Linked DNA regions of Homo sapiens: region 1 is linked to region 2. Evidence: promoter capture Hi-C in 16 types of primary human blood cells and fetal thymus (Javierre and others, 2016). All regions are on one chromosome and are shown on one strand. Each heading gives the region's core, a stretch centred on a gene start or on the middle of the fragment in contact. The rest is flanking DNA. Distances are from core to core; before and after follow the strand shown.

Region 1 (3,124 bases), core at 26-2,525, 3.0 Mb after region 2:
GAAGGGAGCGTGTAAGTGTAGAGTTTCTGTATGTGAGTAAAGTTAAGTTATTATCAGCCTAAAGTAGCATGTTAGAAGGATAAGATGTTTTATGTAAACATAAACATGGTAGCCACAAAGCAAAAACCTATAGTATTTCTGCAACATGCAAAAAGAAAGGATTGAAAGCATACCACCGCAGAAAACCATAAAACTGTTCTGGAACCAAACTGAGGGTCAGGCTTCTATTTCTCGTGGCCCAATAATGAGATGCAGATGAACTGGGGAGGAAGAGAGTTTTCATTTCTGTAACTGGTTATAGGGACAAGGCCTGGAAAATATCACCAGACCAACTCAAAATTACAAAGTCTTCCAGAGCTTATATAACTTCTAAGCTATATGTCGATGTGTAAGTGTGCATTCATCTAAAGACATAAGTGATTAACTTCTTTTAATCTACAACTAAGAACTGAGTCCTGAAGACCTTCCTCTGGAGCCTCAGTAAATTTCCTGATGGGTAAGTTTACTCAGTGTATTTACTAAATGGGTCCGAGTGCTGAAGTGATTACCCTTATCTTGTCTCCTGCTAAATCATGGAGGTTTGGGGAGTTTCTACAGACTCCCAATAAAACTTGTTTAATCTTAAACAGATCCTGTTAAGAATTGCTTTATTTTTACATCCTTTAAGACCCAGAAAAGGCCTAGGCAAAACTCTTAATGAGCTTTTATTACATTCCAGCCTTTGTATAAGGGCACTGTCCCTTTCAGCTTTTAATATTTAACTTAAGCACTCAGTCAGTAGTAAAACAGTTGTTATGGAGTTCTGTGTTATAGTGAGACCTGCCCTGTCACAAAACCACAAAGAAAGACAGCAAGAGAAGAAGAAAGAAACAAAAGACATGCAAAACAGTCAAACACATTACTCACAATAGCCAAGACAGGGAATCAACCTAAGTGTCCAATAACAAATGAATGGATACAGAAAATCTGGCATATGTACACAATGGAATACTGTTCAGCCTTAAAAAAAGAAAATTCTGTCATCTGTGACAACATGAATGAATCCAGGGGACATTAAGCTAAGTGAGATAAGCGAGGCACAGAAAACAAATATCACATGATCAACTTAGATGGAGAATCTTAAAAAGCTGAACTCATAGAAGCACAGAGTAGAATGATGCTTACCAGAGGCTGGCAGAGGGTGAAAGGGGGCAGGGGAAGGGGGTGTAACAAGTCAGTGAGGGAGCAAATGGAGAACTGTTGATCAAAGGGTACAAAGTTTTAGATAGGGAGGAGAAATAGGTTGCGAGATCTGCTGCACAGCAGAGTAACTATAGTCAATAATAATGTATTATATATTTCAAAATTACTAAGAGAGTACATTTCAAATGTCTCACCATAAAAAAGATAGGTAAACAAGGTGAAGAATATGTTGATTAGCTTGATTTAATCATGCCACATTGCATACAGATATCATAACATCACACTGTACCTTATAAATATTTACAATAGATTTCTCAATCAATAATATTGACAAAATAAATGAGAAAAGATGACAAAATTAAAAGAGACTATTATAGATTAAAAGGGTTAAGAATATAAATGCCAAATGCAACGTGAACACCTTGTTTGGACACTGATTCAAACAAACTAACTTTAAAAAAGTCTTTTTGAAGTAATCAAGGAAATGGAATATGAACTGGGTATAAAATAATGTTAAGAAAGTATTGTTCATTTCGTTAGTACGATAACAGCAGTGTGATTTTGTTTTTTAAAATGTCCTTATAAGTCAGGGATGCATAATAAACTAGTAACATAAGTTAGATGACATGATATTAAGGACTCTAAAATATAAAATATACCAGCAAAATTTAACACTACCACCAGCAATAGTAGCAATGGTAGTTGTAGTGGAGATGAAAAATAAAGTGAACAAAATATTTATAATGTGGAAACTGCAAAATATGTATATTAAGGTTCACTTTCTTTTTCTCTCTACTTCTGTAATGTTTGAAAATTTCCATAATAACAAATAATTTAAGCCTCAAATAATTTGGAAGCATGTCTCATGAGTTAGGTGGTGATTAAAATGTGTTACTCTATTTTGGTCAAAAACAATGCCTGTCTCTACTATAATAAGCAGTTTTCCTGTGTGTTATTGAAGGCAATTTCAGAAGAGAAGAACTGGGTTTGAATTATCATTCTGGGTGATCTTGTGTGCAGAGATCTGTGTCTCTGCATACCTTGTTTTCCTTATAGGTTAACTAAGGAAGTTAAATTATTGGATCACCAAATCTTTTCCAACACATTTCTAGAGCTGTTTCACTTAATGACAGATTATTAGATAAGGGAATAGCTTTTTATGGCCATAATAATCCTTTGAATATGTAAGTATTCATTTTCAAAATAATTTTTAAAAACAGCTTCATTACCTGTAATAATGACTATATTTAATATTTGACCACAGCAATTATACAAGGTCAGAAATACTCAAAACCAATTAATTCCATGAACAATAGCATATGAGAAAACTGCTTCAATATATTGTATTCCAGTCAGAGTGAACCTATAATCCCTGGAAATTCTTACCTGCTAATAGTTATCTAATTCTGATTATCTGCATGGCTCAGGTCACCAGATAACAGCTTAATTTACTACAGTGAATAGACTGCTTACCCTGTTACATCTCAAAGATTCTCCAAAACAGATAACTGGTACTGAATAAATTAAAAGAAACAATTTGGAGGTTTTCTACTCTTCAAACCAGTTATACTGATGATGTATAGTGTACTTAACCTTGTGAATCAGATATTTGACAGTAAATTAAACTAGCCATTATACCCCACTTTCCAAATACACAGAGGTGAAGTGAAGCTATCGGGATAATCTATTATTGGGTTTGGTTTTTTATATGGTTTGGCTGGGTCCCCATCCAAATCTCATCTTGAATTATAGTTCCCATAATTCCCACGTGTTGCGGGAGGGACCCAGTGGGAGGCACCCAGTGGGAGGCAGTTGAATCATGGGGGTGGTTTCTTCCATATTGTTCTCATGGTAGTAAATAAATCTCACAAGATCTGATGGTTTTATAAGGGGAAATCCCTTTCACTTGGTTCTCATTCTCTCTCTTGCCTGCTGCCATGTA
Region 2 (3,564 bases), core at 645-3,144:
CCCAAGCTTAAAATCCTCCAATGCAGTACCGTCCAAAAATTCAATACAGCACCATCTAAGAGAAATACAATGCTAGTCCCACATGTAATTTTATGTTTTCCAGTAGTCACATTAAAAAAGTAAAAATAAACAGGTAAAATTACTTTTACAAGATTTTATTTAATGTAATATATCCAACATATTATAATTGCAAATTTGAATTAGAAAAAAAACAACTCTGTCTTTAAAAGTTGATATGGGTTTTACACTTATTTAAACTAATCACATTTCCAGTCTCAATAACCACAAGTGGCTAATAACTATCATAACGAATAGTGACACCTGGGTGCGATGGTTCACACCTGTAATCCCAGCACTTTGGGAGGCCGAGGCGGGCGGATCACCTGAGGTAAGGAGTTTGAGACCAGCCTGGCCAACCTGGCGAAACCCCGTCGCTACTAAGCATATACAAAAAAATCAGCCAGGCGTGGTGGCGTGCACCTGTAATCCTAGCTACTCGGGAGGCTGAGACAGGAGAATCACCTGAACCCAGGAGGCCGATATTGCAGTGAGCTGATATTGCGTCACTGCACTCCAGCCTGGGCGACAGAGCTAGACTACGTCTCAAAAAAAAAAAAAAAAAAATGACGCTCCAAAGGATTTTATCATTCGTACTCTAAAAACTGACATCTTTTTAACACACCTACACGGTCCACCATGGTCTGGCACCTGCCTACCTTCCAGCCTCACCATTACAACTATCCCCGCTTCCTTCTCTACTAACTACATAGACCTTCTTGTAGTTCCTCTAGTTCCTCTAACAAACCGTGCTCCCTGTAGACACTGGGCCTTTACACAAGCTCTTTCCCAGTGGAAAGTGCTCAATGCCTGGGGGTCTACGATGCTTCTCAAAGGTGTTCTCTTCTATGTCTGACCTATAGAAAACCTCCACATATATTTGTGTAACATATAAACTGATGGCCTAAATATACTGCGAAGAGAAGCACAACAACGGTAAATTTAATCTTTATTAAAACAGCTACCATTTCTCGAGCCTACCGTGTATCACCTCATCTAATCTTCACAATAAGCCCAGTAGATAGGTCTGATGAACACCATTTTACAGTGAAGAAACAGGTTCTGAGAGGTAAGATCCTCAGCCAAGAACACATTGTAGTAAGAAATAAGGACTTCAAACACAACTCTGACTCCAAAGTCAGTTCTCTAAACCAGTATGTTATACTTGTCCACAGAACATTGGCTTCTGGGCCTAAAATATTAAAAACTAAAACTGAATAAAGTATTATAGTCACCAAGTTGTACGCACTAGTTTCCGTCGCTGTGGAGGGACCTATTTTCTCCAACTAAAAACAGTAATAGCTCCCACTTACTGAGGGCTTACGTAAGACACTGTTTAGCGCTTTACTTACATAGATGTTTTCATTTATACCCGCATGATACCCCACTGAAGTCGGATCATCTCGACTTAACAGGAAAAACTGAAGCTCAAGTAAATTTTTCTGGCGAGGAAATACAGTCTGTCAATTTGGGTACTGGAAGCAGCTTTCCCTGCTCGCAGTCCGGGGATTGCTCAAGGTCTTCGAGGCACCGCCACAAAGGCGACACTCTCATAGTTATCCCGACTGTTTCCCTGAAGACGCAGGCCTGGCCTGGCAGGGCACGAGTGCCATGAATGGGTCTCAGGACAGTGGCTTTTCGGTCCCCCGTCCTCGCTCCCTCAACACCTGAGGGCTCATCACCCCCGTGAAGATATATCCAATAATTAGGAGCCTTCGACTCATTTTCTCAGGTTCCCCAACTCCCCGTCGCCCGCAAGTTCTAACAATATTTTCTTACCCAGCCCCGCCGCAGCTAGCCCCAAGTCCATCCGACAGAATCCAAGCCAATCTCGTAATGTTTACTTCCGGCTTTTCGCCTAATTCCGGCGGCCACTGCGGTAACTTCCGGATGACCGGCACATGCGCACTAATTTCCTGGCGGGGCCGGGGGCGGAGGGGGGCCCTCCAGTGCTCCTGCGCCGTGGGAAACGCGAGAACTCTAGCTGCTGCGTATCGCGCTATTTACCCGGCTTGTGGGGAGTTTCAAGTTGGGCGGCTACTTTTTGGCTTCTATTTAGGAGCTTTCTTTTAGAATCGGAGAATTTTAGGAAGTTAAAAAAAAAAAAAAAAGACCAGAACAGACAAGAGCTTAAGCCTCACCAGGGGACTATGAAATGAATGGGGAAGTTGGTGACGTATCAGCTTAAAAAAAAAAAAAAAGCAGTTAAACTTGGCACTAATTAGTAGCCAGGCTGTGTAACATGCTGGGGATTTGGTGAACAGTGTCTTCCCTCAGATTTACATCAGAGTGCGAAAGACACCGAAACAACTATTCAGATTTAGCAGCTGTGAAAAGTTGCTATGAAAAGAATACCAGGTGCTGTGAGAACATAAGGCATGTTATCATTAGAAAAAAATACGACAATTTCCATTTTGGAGAAACAGTATCTATGCTATCCCATCCCTTCTTTAAAAGTATACATGTGAAATAAAACACTGGAAAATAAACTAATTTTCGTGGTAGAATTTCTTGTGATTTTTTTTTTTCTTTGTGCTTTCTATTCTGGTTGTTCTCCCCCTCCCCCCCATAACGTGTATCCTTTTTGAATGTAAAAGTAAAAGTAGCTACCATTCCTGCCTCAATAAAATAGCCCAACATAATAGAATCTATTTTTTTCGTATTAAGAATTTGCAATACCTGGAGTTTAGGAACATAAATATTAATTTTGCTTTTACAGGGCAGTAGATGAAGAAACAGTGTCAGAGACTAGCGTGAAAGTGAATAGAGTCTATGAATCACTCAGGCTTTGTTTTTTTCCACTTAAAAATATTCCTGAAATTTGCTTAGGAGTGTTAAGGCCTAATTAGCCAAAACCACCAGGAGAGCGCATCTCGAAGAGGAATCAGAAAGCGCAGGACAAGACAGTTGAATCTTTTCTAAGACTTGAGGTCCCTCTGGAGGGTTCTGAGGAAGGTCTAGGAAAGCCGGGATTGGTTCTGGATGGGTTGCTGTTTGTAAAGAAGGATTGGGAGAAACTGATTAGGGACTAAGTGCTGTTATGAGTGAGGGTGGTTTAGCAATTGAGTATTTCCAGTAATAGGAATAGCAAAGCTGGTCTGAGGGCATCATTAGTAAGAAAACAGTGGTTATTCAGAGAGGGTGGTTATGGTTTACAGCTGCTGCATGACCTTAGGAGAAACAATGCTTTCTGTTGGTGAAAAAAAGAAGACATCCTAAGACAAACCTTGCACCTCAAAACCTCTGTAGATAGAGAATCCCCACTTGGAAGCTATAGGTGTTGTGCAGATTTAGTCTTAAAAATTAACACTTTGAGTGCTGATAATATAATATGATGATGTAAAATTTAGGAGATACAGGAGGAAATAAAGGATGGGGATAAAGGAAAAAGAACAGTGAAGGGACAATAAAGGTATGCATATTTTTCTGTCTTTCCTCTTTTCTTCACCTTAAGTTAGGCTCTTTTCTTATAACCTAGTATAATGTCCAGCATTTAATAGGTATTCA

The links. The method cuts DNA at HindIII sites, captures the fragments that hold promoters and counts their contacts. A CHiCAGO score of 5 or more calls a contact.
Region 1: a contact is called between a fragment that was not itself captured here and the fragment with the promoter of SLU7 in region 2, in 1 of 17 cell types (M0 macrophages). The highest score is 5.1, in M0 macrophages.

The regions. Positions count from the first base shown.
Region 1 is chr5:163,372,790-163,375,913 of GRCh38, forward strand. All of the region lies in intron 1 of LOC105377700 (a long non-coding RNA gene), which reads right to left. Among named protein-coding and RNA genes, the nearest start is that of CCNG1, 63 kb to the right of the region's middle. RefSeq lists an enhancer at 579-1,080. The HindIII fragment of the contact is 6,750 bases long and covers 1-3,124 here.
Region 2 is chr5:160,417,187-160,420,750 of GRCh38, forward strand. SLU7 (spliceosome associated SLU7) reads right to left here and starts at 1,895. Exons shown (of 16, transcript NM_006425.5): 1 at 1,837-1,895. RefSeq lists enhancers at 1,607-1,656, 2,107-2,226, 2,237-2,306. The HindIII fragment of the contact is 5,685 bases long and covers 5-3,564 here.